3 separate regions of the Homo sapiens genome follow, and regions 2 and 3 are each linked to region 1. The links are contacts of gene promoters, found by promoter capture Hi-C in blood cells and fetal thymus (Javierre and others, 2016). All regions are on one chromosome and are shown on one strand. Each heading gives the region's core, a stretch centred on a gene start or on the middle of the fragment in contact. The rest is flanking DNA. Distances are from core to core; before and after follow the strand shown. Region 1 holds the start of UBA3 (ubiquitin like modifier activating enzyme 3). Region 2 holds the start of SUCLG2 (succinate-CoA ligase GDP-forming subunit beta). Region 3 overlaps SUCLG2-DT (SUCLG2 divergent transcript).

What was found. The method cuts DNA at HindIII sites, captures the fragments that hold promoters and counts their contacts. A CHiCAGO score of 5 or more calls a contact.
Region 2: a contact is called between the fragment with the promoter of SUCLG2 here and the fragment with the promoter of UBA3 in region 1, in 2 of 17 cell types (naive B cells and total CD8 T cells). The highest score is 6.7, in naive B cells.
Region 3: a fragment that was not itself captured here is called in contact with the fragment with the promoter of UBA3 in region 1 in 1 of 17 cell types (non-activated CD4 T cells); the score reaches 5.6 in non-activated CD4 T cells.

Annotation. Positions count from the first base shown.
Region 1 is chr3:69,077,806-69,082,871 of GRCh38, reverse strand. It overlaps UBA3 (ubiquitin like modifier activating enzyme 3), which reads left to right and starts at 2,507. Exons shown (of 18, transcript NM_003968.4): 1 at 2,507-2,538; 2 at 2,719-2,760; 3 at 4,954-5,066. The coding sequence starts at 2,519. RefSeq lists an enhancer at 736-795 and silencers at 2,399-2,468, 2,589-2,678, 2,799-3,028. The HindIII fragment of the contact is 3,356 bases long and covers 1,249-4,604 here.
Region 2 is chr3:67,652,016-67,657,081 of GRCh38, reverse strand. SUCLG2 (succinate-CoA ligase GDP-forming subunit beta) reads left to right here and starts at 2,470. Exons shown (of 11, transcript NM_003848.4): 1 at 2,470-2,579. The coding sequence starts at 2,496. SUCLG2-DT (SUCLG2 divergent transcript) reads right to left here and starts at 2,385. Exons shown (of 7, transcript NR_109992.1): 1 at 1,980-2,385. RefSeq lists an enhancer at 2,164-2,663 and a silencer at 2,179-2,858. The HindIII fragment of the contact is 5,512 bases long and covers 1-2,530 here.
Region 3 is chr3:67,669,273-67,674,338 of GRCh38, reverse strand. SUCLG2-DT (SUCLG2 divergent transcript) reads right to left here. Exons shown (of 7, transcript NR_109992.1): 2 at 4,430-4,523; 3 at 3,335-3,510. Among named protein-coding and RNA genes, the nearest start is that of SUCLG2-DT, 17 kb to the right of the region's middle. The HindIII fragment of the contact is 773 bases long and covers 2,041-2,813 here.

The DNA of each region.
Region 1 (5,066 bases), core at 1,258-3,757:
AACTGCATGACCAAAAGCTGTCAAGAGTGTATTAGTAACAATATGATTACTCCTTGATCACAGGCAATTGATACCCAAGAAAGAATTAAACCTCTTTAGAGGTTTAAACATAAATAAATAAATTCTGAAAAGACAGAGAAAGCTGTTTATAGCATGATTCCCTTCTGTCTCCCTCCCAAAATGTTAACCCTGTCTCTCTCTTTGGGGTATGGGAGATTTTTTTTTTCTCTAAATATTTCTACCTTTGTTAAATTATTTTAAATAAAAATGAACATGTAATGAGTCATTACTTTTTTCCAGTAACTGTTTGAAATGCTATTAGTAGCAGCTCTTTGTTAGTGTTCATTCCGGGGAGGGAGGGGTCAGATTCACTGTAGAGGTCTTTCTGGAGCTTTAATTTATTATTATTTTTAGAGACAGGGTCTCACTATGTTGCCCAGGCTGGTTTTAAACTCCTGGGCTCAAACAGTCCTCCCACCTCAGCCTCCCAAGTAGCCGGGACTACAGGTGTGGGAAGCCGAGCCCTGCTTGATGGGGCTTTTATAATGGGACTGGTGTGTCTAGATAGGACCATTCAGACTATCTGTCTGTTTAAAAACCATAGCAGATAGTCTAATTGTTTATGATATGTTCCATTTGAAGTAAAATAAATCTGTTGAAGGTTTTGCTTGCATGTCTCTGTTGCTTTCATTCCTGGCAAGGGCAGATGGCTATTTCTAATCCGTCAATCAATCTAAGCCAGTGAGAGTGCCTGGTGTCGTTTATCAAAATACCACCATGGTGAGTCAGGCTGTTAGTCTCAAAGCAAGCAGATGCAGGGCCAGATACCTTTGCAGACTTCTTCATCGGCTAGCTGTACTCTATCCCTAGGCCTCAGTTTCCTCCCCTGTGAAATGGGTGAGACTGGACTAGGTGGCCTTTAAGGTGACTGCTGCTTTTCACTATCTGAGAGGGTTGCAATGCTCACTACCACTAATCAAAGGGTATCCAGTATTGTTGGGGGTTCAGGCTACAGGAGCCCATTTTGATAAGCACTGAGGTTAAATCCTCAGTGAAACCATCTGTGGAGTTGTCTGGGCAAGAAAAAGTAGTTTCATAGTTGACGCTGAGACATGTGATGCAGAAGGAGGCTGGTATCTCTTGATAGGGACTGTGAACTCTATTCCCACGCTCACTGCCTGGCATTGACTTTCAGCTCAGTGAATGCTATTGAACTGAACCTAATTGGGGGACCATAAAGGACAAGCTTTCCTTAAGGTTCACTGAAAACTAGGACAAGAGGAGGTTAAATATCACAGTGTAGTAACAGCAGCTACATTTACTGAGTACCCATCAGGCTTTATGTACTCCATTTCAGTGGCCCTCAAACTTTACCAGTGGAGAATCACCCCAGGCTTTGCAGAAGGCTGAAGGGTGGGGTGGCGGGGGGGCGGTGGGGAGCGTGGTGGGGGCGGTGAGGGGTGAAAATTTGTGTTAAAAAAAACTTCCCAAGTGATGTTGATCAGGAACTGTATTTTGAGAGCCACTCTGGATTTTACTTAATTATCAGTCTTACAAGGTGAATAGTGTTATGCCCACTTTATAAATGAAGAAATAGAAGTGTCTAAGGGTTTCGTAGCTCACAACTGAGAAGAATTTAAAATCAGTTACTTTTGATTCCAAATATCATTCTTGTCCCACTCCATAGAAGGAGATGTGTGTGTACGTGTATATACATACATTTTTGAACATGATCATTTCCCTCTATCCAGCCATCCAGATTCACAGTGTATATTTGTATTTCTGACTCTAGAAGAAAATAATTGAAACTTTTATCACAATTTATCTTTAGGTGATAGGATTATGGGTGTTCTCAGTTATTCTTTGATTTTTGTGATTGTTTTCCTTTATACTTTTTTCTTTGTATCTAAATATACACATTTATCTCAGGAAAAGTTTTAATCATTTTGTTTCCGCTGAACTTATCTAACAGAATGTGACATGAAAATATTAATGCTGATTTGTTCAAAGAAAATAATAATCTCCCACCCCACCAATGTAAACGGATTTAGATAAATTTATTATTCAAGTGAGTACTTATAAAGGCAAAGACTTTGGAACCATCCTGAAAAGCAGAAAGTGAAAATTTCCTTGATCTTTGCCCCCAGAGGAAAGCTCTGGCATACTGGGAGGGTTCTTCACGAATTTTTCATAGAATATACCAATATTTTGTATAATTACGTATTAACATATAGTTTGTGTAAACGCATAATGTATTGTCTACATTTTCACGCTGCAGAGCAACATTATGCACGGTATAAGATTCACCTAATTAAGCGTAGGTAATTAAGATTATAATTACAGGGCAAGACTTTAAAGCCCATGGGAGCCCAGCCGCAGTCAACCTCGCACCTCCCTGCCGGTTGTGTTTCTGGCCTCGCCCCTCCCCGCTTCGCCAGCCCCGCCCCTCCCCGCTTTGCCAGTCCCGCTCCTCCCCGCCCTGCCGCGCGTGGGCACCTGGGAAGAGGCGGAGAACAATATGGCGGATGGCGAGGAGCCGTAAGTACCGGGGCTCTGCAGACGCGCCGGGCTGGGCTGGGTTGTGAGAGAGCGCGGCGGTGGGCGGTTGCCGCCGCCACCCGGGGTCCCCACACCCCCCGCCCCGTCCCCTCGCCCCCCTCCCCTCGCGGCGCCCAGTGTGTAGCGCGATGCTGACCCTTCTTTTATTCTCTCTTTTAGGGAGAAGAAAAGAAGGAGAATAGAGGAGCTGCTGGCTGAGAAGTTAGTGCTGCCGGGAGGCCGGGGCCCTCTCCGGGGACCCCCGCCTCCCCCCACCCCAGGCCTAGGGGACCAGCCGCAGCGGGCCCGGGGGGCTGGGAGGGGGACACCCGGAGCGCAGGCCGCGCTGCCTCATCCCCTGATCCCCGCCCCGCAGCCCCGGGGGCCTGGCGGGCCGCTCCCGGTATCTGCCCGGTGCGGGCGTCGGGGCCAGGCTGTACTGCCCCAGCTCCTGCAGGGGCCCTCCGGGGTGCTTGACGTAAAGGTCTTGAGGAAGGACCCTTGTGCACTCCTCTTCCTCCATCCCAAATTGTCAGAGCAGTGACCCTGTGAAAAGGCAATCTACCTTAAACACACAGGAAAAGGACACAAGACCGTTTTGTGGCCTTTTGCAAACACTGAGACAGTAGTACTAATTGCAAACTTTTAATGATAACTCTACATGTCAGGTATTGTACTAAGCACTCCAGTCATTTTGGCAGAATAATTGGCTCTTAAAAGATCTGGAAAGAGGTTGTTGACTTCAAACAGCCTATTTATCCCTTTTACTACACACCCTATTTCTTATCAGATGCTTAATTCTATGCTGGTGAGACAGATTTAATCGAAGTGTTTTCTAACCTGGCCAGCGCCACATAATTTACTCCCCTCCCTGCCTGGGCAGGGAAAAAATACTCTTGCATTGGTTATGGTGAGTTTGTAAATTTCCGTGCCGATTCCCAGTAGCAGTGCTTTGATCTTTATGTGTGTCCCTCAGTTGAATTTCAGCTGCAAGAGGACCGGGATGACAAACTTAATTTCACATTCTTTCCTGCCTTTTATTTCCCTCCCACTTTTACATGAAATCACAATTAAACATTGCTTACCATATCCCACGTACTGTACTGAGTCTTCTGTGTGATTATCTATATCCTCATGGCTGAAAGAAGTAGCTATGAACGGCCTGCAGATGAGGTTTATGTCTATTAAGTAATCTGCTCAAGGTCACAGTGCTGTTAATTGTGGAACCCAACACAACTCTGACATCAAAACGTATGGTTTTTATTGCTAGGCAATACTTCTTGGTCCCTTTTGTAAAAATTGGATATTACTAATATATTTGACGGTAGAAACTGTGGAGTTATAGGAAATTAGAAAATTAAAAATAATCACAACCAAACGTGAATCTTAACTAAGTATAAAATAGATGAATTTTGTAGAGGAGTCCCACCTTATTCTGTTGTATGTTCTAAAAGGTTTGTAGATGTCTATCTGTGGCGTAATTGTAATCTGAAACTTTGTGTTTAGTGGCAAGAAAAGCCGTCCCACAGCATTAAGAGATTCTTTAAAAAATTAAGACCTCTGCCAGGTTCGGTGGCTCATGCCTGTAATCCCAGCACTTTGGGAGGCCGAGGTGGACGGATTACTTGAGCTCAGGAGTTTCAGACCAGCCTGTGCAACATGGCGAAACCCGTCTCTACTAAAAATACAAAAATTGGCTGGGTATGGTGGCATGTACCTGTAGGCACAGCTACTTGGGAGGCTGAGGCAGGAGAATCACTTGAGCCCAGGAGGGCAAGGCTGCAGTGAGCTGCAGTCACACCACTGCACTCCAGCCTGGGCAACACAGTGAGACTCTGTCACAAAAAAAGAAAAAGAAAAAGAAAAAATAACCTTATTTCTGAGAAAAGTGTGTGAAAATTCCTCTCATCAAAGTGATTTTTAGATTACACCTTTGGAAAGGACACATAAATATTAAATTTGCATCAGACATATAAGCATCAGAATTCTGAAAGTGTGACTTTTTTTCTCTGTTGTATCTCATATTTCCTAATGCAAGTGTGATGAAACAACAGATTGAGGAAGCTTGCAGTGTTTTTTTTGTAAATACCAAATGTAGAGAAGTCAATTTCTCACATAATAGACCAATATCCTAAGTTGAACCTTGGATTGCTTTAGGAAACCAAAAACATGTAGACTGATTTATTTCATCCATTGGGTGAAATAAAAATAGAAACGTGCAGTTCTTAACTTTAAATGAATTGTATAATAGGCAAGAAAAAATTTCAAAGCATAAACATAATCACATTGAATATTTTCCTTTTTATTTGAGCAGGTCTGGTGTGGTTACCTTTTCATTTGGGGATACCATAATAGTTGTAGGTGTGGTTTTTTTCATACTGATCTTTGCAGCTGAATTTACTGTGTTCTGTGCAGAATGGCTGTTGATGGTGGGTGTGGGGACACTGGAGACTGGGAAGGTCGCTGGAACCATGTAAAGAAGTTCCTCGAGCGATCTGGACCCTTCACACACCCTGATTTCGAACCGA
Region 2 (5,066 bases), core at 1,221-3,720, 1.4 Mb after region 1:
TCTCGAAATGGGCTAGAAATTATATTAAAATAAAAATCCTCAGCTCCCCCACTTTCCAAAGAGAGAGATTAGGAAAGAAGCTAGTAGCAACAGCTGTCTACTTATGTCACATTGTACCTTTTTTCATGATCATATGCTCAAGAATGAGTAAGGTTAAAAAAAAAAATCTAAAATAGTGCTTAATTTGGGGGTGGGTGGAAGGGATGTGAATCTCATCTCTTATCAGACCTGCCACCTCTGGCAAGTTACTTAACCTCTGTGCACCTCAGTTTTCTCTTCTGCAAAATGGGGATTGTACACTTCTACTCATTTAAAACTTTGCTATGAAGACTAAACAAGTTTATATTTGTCTAATGCTTGGCACACATTCAGTAACTTTGCTGTTGTTTTTATTATATGCACATTGCTTAGACTCGCGTAAACTCTGTGAAAGGGAAATAATCTTGGGACTCCCAAATCACTAAGGTAAAGGGAAAAGTTAAGGTGGGAACTGCTTAGGGCAAACCTGCCTCCCATTCTATTCAAAGTCATCCCTCTGCTCACAGAGATAGACGCACAGCTGATTGCTTCCTTTGGAAAGGCCAATCAGAAACCCAAAAGAATGCAACCCTTTGTGTCTTATCTACCCATAACCTAGAAGCCCCTCCTTGCTTCCAGTTGTCTCGCTTTTCTGGACCAAACCAATGTACATTTTACATATATTGATGTCTCATATCTCCCTAAAATGTATAAAACCAAGCTGTGTCCTCCACCACACCTTGGGCACATGTCAGGACCTCCTGAGGCTGTGTCACAGGCACGTGTCCTTAACTGTGGCCAAATAAACTTCTTAAATTGATTGAGACCTGTGTCAGGTATTTGGGGTTCACAGCTCCAAATGAATGTTGCTTTTATCACTCTGATTACTGGGCTTAAAATCCTCCAATAGCTTTGTGTCCGGAATTGGTTCCTTCCCGTGGGTTCTTAATCGTCTCGCTGACTTCCAGAATGAAACTGCAGACCCTCGCGGTAAAGATGGCGTGACCAGAATTTGTTCCTGCAGATGTTCAAATGTATCTGGGGTTTCTTCCTTCCGGTGGGTTCGTGGTCTCGCTGACTTCAGGAGTGAAGCCGCAGACTTCACAGTGAGTGTTACAGCTCTTAAAGGTGGCCCGTCCGGAGTTGTTTGTTCCTGCCTGTGGGTTCGTGGTCTCGCTGACTTCACGAATGAAGCTGCAGACCTTTGCAGTGAGTGTTACAGCCCTCGAAGGTGGGGCATACGGAGTTGTTCATTCCTCCCAGTGGGTTCGCAGTCTCCCTGACCTCAGGAGTGAAACTGCAAACCTTTGTGGTGAGTGTTATAGCTCATAAGGATAGTGCGGACCCAAACAGTGAACAGCAGCAAGAGCTACTGCAAAAAGCAAAAGCACAAAGCAACCACAACCTGGAAGGAGACCCCAACTAGGGGCCACTACTGGCGCCGGTGTCCAGCTTTTATTCCCTTATTTGGCCCCACCCTCATCCTGCTGATTGGTCCATTTTACAGAGTGCCAATTGGTCCATTTTACAGAGTGCTGATTGGTCCCTTTTTAAAGAGTGCTGATTGGTGCATTTACAAACGTTTAGCTAGACACAGAGCGCTGATTGGTGCGTTTTTACAGAGTGCCGATTGGTGTGTTTACAAACCTTTAGCCAGACACAGAGCACTGATTGGTGCATTTACAATCCTTTAGCTAACAGAAAAGTTCTCCAAGTCCCCACCTGATTAGCTAGACACAGAGGGCTGGCTGGTGTATTTACAAACCTTTAGCTAGACACAGAGCGCTGATTGGTGCATTTACAATCATTTAGCTAGACAGAGAAGTTCTCCAAGTCCCCAACCGACCCACCCGGCTTCATCTCTCAGCTTTACATTGATTTTAGGTTAAGGATAGAACAAAACAAAACACCCACAACTCCTTAAGGGATGGAGAGCCTCCAATGGCCTCTCCTTGACTCACCTGAAGCCCTGGGCTGCAGGAACCTCACCTGTCTCTATTCGTTAAAGTCTCAGCTCAAACACCACTGTCCCAGATAGGCCTCGTGACCGCAGGACTAGACCACGGTTCTCTGCGGAGGGCGTCAGCTCCGTGAGCCACCCTTCCAGCACCCACTGCCATGGCGAATATTTGCTTGTTTGGCCATCCAGGGACTGTTTGAGCCCCAAGACCGCAGGGCTCGGGGTCTGTCTTTGCTCAGGACGATAACCTGGGGACTGGACAGTAGGCCCTCAGGCCTTGGGACCGCTCAAAGTGAACCGGGGCCGGGTGGGGGACCCAGGGCTCTGCAGCCTTAAGAACGCCTGTGCCCCCGGGACGCAGGGGTCAGGCCCGGCCCGGCCCAGACCGCCTCTGCCTCCTCCTCCTTTTCCTCCCCGCGCCCGCTTCTCCTCTGACCCCTCCTCCCGCTGCTCCTCCTCCGCCTCCTTCCCCTGCCCGCGCCCGCCCTACTGCCCCGTGCCGAGTTTCCTGTTTAAGATGGCGTCCCCCGTAGCAGCGCAGGCCGGGAAGCTTCTGCGAGCCCTAGCGCTGCGGCCCCGCTTCCTGGCGGCCGGGTCCCAGGTGAGCGTGGGGGCAGGAGCTGCGGGCGCCAGCAGCGGCGCCGGCCTGCCCGGGCTTCCCTCGCCCCCTGCTACTCTTGGTCTCCGCCTGACCCCCTGCGCGGCCCCTCGGGCGCCCCACTTCGGGAGGTGACGCGGCGCCGGGTCCAGGCGCAGCAGGGAACCCCGCTCCAGTGTGGGGCAGGGGCGGCGCGGCGGCAGCCCCGGGTGCCTCGGGGTATGAGCGACCCAACGCACTAGAGTCTCCGCTGTCTGCCCGCGCAGACTCATGGCGAAGGCGCTGAAGCAGGCGCTGGACGCAAGTTTAAGAAAAGTTTCTTGGACCGGGTTTTGGAGCCCTGAGGTTTTATTGTCAGCTCTACTAATTCTGCTTTTCAAACTTCTGGCACTAACCCTGAGCACGTTTAGACCACGTGATAAACATGCCTGGAAACCCGTTTCAGCCCAACTAGGAACTCACCCCCTAGGGTGAACTTCCTGCAGGCTACCTGCTTTTGCAGACTTTTAATGTGCCTGAGTTGGTCAAATCCGTGGGTCAAGGAGAAAAATGGGAAACGATCTTTCTCCTCTTTCCAATGAAAAATCAGGGCTGTCACTAAAACGCATTAGACCATTGACCCTGTCCATGTCCTCCTTGTTGATGGAGAATGAAATCAAAGAGGGTCAGTGGTGGGCTGGATAGCGATTGGAACTTGGCCTCTAGCAGATTTTTACCTTCTGCAGATGGCAAGCGTTAAAATAGTCAGAAGGACTTCAGGAAAGTTTTGAGTTGGTGATGACTCTTGTAGAAATCACTCAACCACTGAACTGGTTAGTCTCCGTAGACTATCTCTCTTCCCTTTTAAAGAAAGCACAGTCTGGGATTCAGCCACAGCAGAGTTAATGACCTTGCCTATTTCCCCATTTTTAATTGATGAGAGGCAAATTATCACTCATACAATTTTAACCAGGATGTGCATAGTATAGTTTTTTAGAAAATTTAAAAAATAGTGATTAATGATTTTTTGAGTTCCTCTAAACTTTGGTTATGACATCTGTGAGCTATTTTTACCCCTCTCCTTTCATTTCCTGCCTCCCCATTTCTCTGTTATTGTTAATGTAAATTTAAAAGGTGCTAATACTTACTACTGTAATATTCTTAATAGGTGCTTGACAGTATAGTGAGGTAGCAAAAGGAATGGCAGTTTTGTCTAATTAAAACTCACTAATAACTGTTGTAATAGAGTAAGGAGAATAGCTCTAGGAGATGAAGTCCTATTCATTATTTAAGTGTTAGAAAAAACAAGAACTAGGGTGCTTACCATGAGTGTAGACTTGAATTGATGAGAAACATGGGGCCCAGGGCAGTGAAAACTCATGAATTGTACAGAGAAACTGAAAATGCAGAGTGTTTAGCTGAAATATGTGAAGCCTACTTCCCTAACCAAGAAATAAGAGGCTGAACGCAACACAGGAGAAAATCTGGTTGGGGAGAGATACTCTTGGTTTGTCAAGAAAACTGGGTAAAAAGATCTGTTAGCACGCCCCATCTGGTTACTGTGATTTACATATTTGTGGATGATGTGTTTTTCTGTAAATTCTTAGAAGGTAAAAGTAGGTTTTTTTAAAGATAGAAAGGTACACAGTGTCCAAGAACTGGAAATGGACATTAGCAATCATTTAGTCCAGCCAGCTCATTTCATGGGTAGAGAAATTGAGGCCTAAAGAAGTTCAATGACATATTCAACGATACAGTGAGAGTTTGTGGCATTCCAGAGTAAAGGCTTACCTTTACGTTTCCGTTACACCATGCTGTTTCCTGGTGAGTATATACTTCCTCATGAAAATATATTATATCAACATGCAAATTAATCTGCATGCCAGTAGTAACTATATAACATCCAAGTCATTAGCACCACTGACACATTTTTATTTTTTTCTTTATGACCATCTTAGAATTGTCCATAAAAATGGTGAGTATTGCTATTTTCAAATTCTTGGGTGCTTCCTATGATCTGTTTCATGTACACTGATTTGATATTACGTTTCCATAGTCCCTTGCCCGTGGCAGACATTGCAGTTAAACATGGCCCACTTCTCTCATCATACTTAAGAATCCTCACCAAGTGTCTCAGAAATCTGTTGCCACTCTTGGCCCAGACCTATTTTATACCACCAGGCCTTGTGAAAAACTGTTGTCTGTACAGAAATAAAAGACCCAGTTTCTGCTTAGAGAAATAACTTTAACTGGTCTCTCAAAGATACCCATAGAATGACATTTTGTCTACCTCCTCCCTATGGTTAAATTTAACATTTGACACATATTCCTGATGCTTAGTGTCATTGAAGTTTTTTTTTTTTTTTCACCTTTGCTGTTAGCTTTACTGTTTTGACTTTTGATTGATAGTACGTCCTTAAAGGGTCCACTTTAGTCATTTCTTATTTTTCATATAGTTTTTATTCAGCCCATACCATTTGGCAGGACTGTTGTAGGCCCTGGGGTTTGGGG
Region 3 (5,066 bases), core at 1,178-3,677, 1.4 Mb after region 1:
GCTACACACTTTCAAACAACCAGATCACGTGAGAACTCTATCACAAGATAGCACTTGGGGGATGGTGCGAAGCCATTATAACCACCTCCATGGTCCAGTCACCTCCCACCAGGCCCTGCCTCCAACACTCAAAATCCCAATTCAACATGAGATTTGGGTGAGAACACAGAGCCAAACCACATCACAATTTGACCTCAATTTTGGTTGTATGCTGTGCTTTGAAATCCTTGAATGAAAAGTTGTTGATGAATTCTGAACAAGTCAGAAACTTTAGACTGAAGTTCATGTTGTATCTATCACTTATTAAAAGAAAAAAGTGATTGTATTATTCAATGTCATTAGGCATTAACAAAGGGAAGAAAAGTATAGAGAATATATTACTCACAAGCAAAATTCTTTCTAAATGGAATCCTTTACAATGTATCCCATGAGGCATCTGTAGGTCTTTAGGGACACAAAACAATTTATTGAAACTTCTGTGCAAATTGAAACTCATATTTGGAGCAATGCATTAAGAATGTACAGATTATTTATTCACGCTCTTCTCTGAAGGAATTGCAGATATCACTTTTATTATACAAATGCTCCTTCAGTGATTACAATCCCTTCTCTCTGACACATGGATGAGAAAGGAATAAATGCAAGTGCATAAAAAATGAAACCTGCTCTGATAGATAAATTGCATATATTCAAGAATGAGGAAAATTGTGTGTGCATGTTATCATATTAAAAAAATAAAATATATTTGGAACTCCTTGAGTTTCCTTCCTCAATAATGAGAGGCACAGAATGAGAATGTTCACTTATAGTAATCTTATCAGCACACCATCAGTGAGGCCAGAATGAATGGTAGACATTACTCTTGCAGAAACATGAATAGGATATCATTTTGATATTACTTCTGCAAACACAGCTAGCAAAGCCAATGTTCATTCTAAATTGCTGGTCAAGGTTTCACAAGAGTCACAACAAATAAAGAAAAAATCCTTGCAATTTAACCAGCTTTTACTGGGAGCTGTAATGTACCCAGTCCTTTCCTGGGCACTATCATAAATATAAGAAAAAGATGTTGACATTTTCCAGTGCTAACAGGTGAGGTTGGGTTAATTCTGTACTCCACAATTCCAAGGGAGCTAGCCTGAGAGTTTTTATAGTGTGTAAAACATAGGGTTGAGGCTGGGCATGGTCGCTCACGCCTGTAATCCCAGCACTTTGGGAGGCCAAGGCGGACAGATCACCTGAGGTCAGGAGTTGGAGACCAGCCTGGCCAACATGGTGAAACCCTGTCTCTACTAAAAATACAAAAATTAGCTGGGTGTGGTGGTGGGTGCCGGTAATCCCAGCTACTTGGGAGGCTGAGGCATGAGAATCTCTTAAACCCAGGAGGCAGAGGTTGCAGTGAGCCAAGATCACACCACTGCACTCCAGCCTGGGTGATAGAGCAAGACTGTCTCAAAAAAACCAAAAAAACAAAAATACAAAACATAGGGTTGGGATTCACTCACTTGGGGGCGCAGGGCACCTGACTTTGCCACATAAAGTGTAAACATGGGTAAATTTCTTAACTTTTCAGACTTCATTTATTCATCAAATAAGAATAAAAATACCCACCTCTTATCTTCATTATGGGGATTGAATGGATTAATGTATATAAAATATTTAACCCAATACGCTATAGACGTGCCATGGTGGTTAACGTCTGTCTTTGGCTTTCCCCCATATTAGCCTCTGAGACAGGGATTTTGGTGCAAGAAGTTTATTTGAGAAGTGATCCCAAGACACAGAGGGAGAAAAACTGAGACATGAGACAGAGAAGGAAGATAATAAAGGGTGATTTATTGAGCAGCTGACTGCTGTGGGTAACAGAACCCAACTCACTGGGGGAACTCAAAACAAAGTAGAACAGCTTTAGAATTACCCCTTCCCAGAAGCAAAGGTGCTAAGGTACTTATCTACCAACTTTCTGTTATTGGTTTAGGATTGATTCCTGGAGCATTAACCTTTCTGCACTTCTAGCCTGCCCTGCATGCTGGCCAAGCTTGCTTCCAAAGACAGAGAAATGACCTTAGGTGGAGAGAATTAAAGGGTTTTCAGTAAGCTGACTACAGAGGCAAGCACTTAGGGGATACAGACAGAGCTTCAACAGGATCTTCATGACTAAGACTTTATTTAACTTCCCCATGACTCCTTAGCCTCTAGGCTCTCACTGCTTTATGAGGCTTCTATAATTCAGGTAAAATCTTTCTAATTGTATTCTTTCCATTTGAAAATGTTAGGCCAACAGGATTTGAATGTATACCATCTGGGTTGAGTGGAGTTAGAGCTTTGAACTCGGACATACAGATTTTATAGAGAGTTGGCTTGCTAGATGATCTCAAAGAGTTCACAACTGAATTGGGGAGACTGTACACACACAAGTGAAAACATGTAAGTCAAATGCAATTTAGAAGTTTAAGGCACTAAAGTCAGCGCAATGGCATTTTCTAAGAGGTAAGACAAAGTTTCATCACTGCAAAATCTGCTGAAATTCTTAACGTTTTTCATCTAGTATCATTTGCCATTTTACTTTGAAATTTCAAGGCATCTGAATAGAGCACACTTAGTGTTGATTTGTTAAAGTGTGAGCTGTTTGGCATGATAGTAAAATGGACTAATTGTTCAGTATAGTAGAGTAAAAACGACCAAATTTTGGATACTGAATTCTTCTGGTTTATTATTTTGAAGAGAAAACAGAGAAGAAAATAGGTTATTTCCCAACTGTGGTATAAATACAGCATCAAAGCTGAAAGTAAGCATATAAAATTGGAGAAGCTTTTCTGAATATGTAAGTTGTGCTAATTAGAGTAGATAAAAATCAACTAATGAGTATCTAACTTTGTGTGCAGATCTGTGCTTAGAAAGATGGTGAAGTAAGAAAAAAAACATAGGCTTTACTGAGTTAAAAAACAGAGATCTAAGCTCTGTTTCTTATTAGCTGAGCAATTAGGTAACTTAGTTTCTCTCTCTGAAGTCTAAATGCATCTTCCCTTAAATGGGCATAATAAGACTTACCTCACAGTAGTGTGAAAAGAATATGACAGATAAATGCAACATGACATGTAAAAGTGTTAGAGGCCATCAACAGGTGAACAGACAAACAAATTGTGGTATGTCTTTACAACAGAATGCTACTCAGCAATAAAAAGGAATGAACGACTGATGCAGAAACCAACATGAATTAATCTCAAAATAAATACAACAGACAAAGGAGAGTATATACTCTAGGATTCTATTTATATAACATTTTAGAAAATACATAATAATCTATAGTGATAGAAAGTATATGAGTGATTACCTGAGGATGGAGGAATACGGAGGAGTGACAGGGCACAGGAAACTTCTGGGGTAAGCGAGATGTTCATTATCTTGATTGTGGTGCCGGCTTCATGGATGTATACATATGTCAAAATTTATCACACTGTGCACATTAAATGTGTGCCATTATTGTATGCAAATTATACTACAATAAAGCTGTTGACAAAACAGTATTAGGTGCGCAGTAAATGCAACTGTCCTTTTCTAAGTGTGTGTTTATCGGACCTTAATGCAACTTGCTTGGGGTCAACTTTGGTAAGTCCAAATCAGCTGAAGCTATACAGATTTTGTCTGCCCATCACTTCTTTCTTCTTCAAAAGAGCAACAGGATAGTCCCTCTTTTGGTAAATCTCTCCTCCCTGGCTCAAAAGCATGGTGCTTATTGGGGTTGCCAATCATAGAGACCCAACATTTTGGACACTTAGGAATAGGTGTGTGCAGGGAACACCATGCAGCCCTTTCAGATCCCCTCTACCAAATGCTGTGTGCCCAGCCCCCAACTACTTCTTCCTTTTGCTGCAAAGTTTGTATCTGCAACCTTCTTCAGAGGATTACCTTGGAGCTAACAGGGCTGCCATGCATATAGAGAGCCAGGGTTTACATCCCACTGACCAAGGCAAGCTGTAACCAATGACTGGCACAATGTTGCTTTTGCCCAGCTCCCTTGCTGTGGAAGGGGACAAATTCTGACATGTAATTTATGCTCTAAGCTCTCTGTGGCCCAAGGCTGGCACTTCATCTGAAATTGCAGCTTTGACCAGGAATTTTCTCTTCTTTATCCTGCCTTCATATACCCTTACCATTTTCTACTAAGAAAATTTCCTTAATAAAACCTCTTGTACCTGAATCTGACTTGAAACGGCATGGCAGCCACCTCTTTGGCCACTGAGATTTCCAGGAATACACCTGGGACTCCGGCTGACCTCATGAGGGTCTTTTAGATATTTTGAGACTTGAGCTAGGGCTATCTTTCCTCTTTGGTCATAATGAAGTATGGATGTGACACTGGAGCTCCTAGGTTCCCCACCTTGAGAAAAAACCTACTTTGAAAGGAATGCTAAACAGAGAAACTCACCAGAGATGAAGTGAGAAACTCCTGGTGATGGTTGGGTCCATGATGCCAGATACCTTTAACAACAGCACTCTTTTTCCTTCTGGGGTTGTTCACGCTGACCAATAAATAAAGCATGTATTTTGAGTCATACTCAAATATTTAAAAAATATTTTTCACACTTTTCAATTGTTTTTAGTAGTTTGAATTGATTTTCTTTGGAATACCAAACTCTCCCCTTGCACAGACTGATGAGATGAAATCACAGTGGGGGAATTTGGAGCCTAATTTGGAGCCTAATGAAAGAATCTTAGGTTTCTTTCATTAAAAATTATACTTTTCCACAAGACACAGACAATAACATAAAAACTCATTGTATCAAGGAAAAGCTGATCTTAATGGCACAGGCTAATGCTGATAGTATAAAAATGACTTCCTGAGAAAGTTTAGCTCACAAATGCTCTGAACCCTTACTAAATCAGATGGATAGCAGGACCATTAATGGCTTGGAGAATTTTCAAATTGAAATTTGCTATTTTGTGCAGAATATTAGAATAGTGCTTCATTGGCTTGGCTAAAATCAAACTAATGACATGAGAATTACTATTTTAATTCATTTAATGATTGCTTCATGAGTTAAAACTTTTTGCCTCCCTCTTGT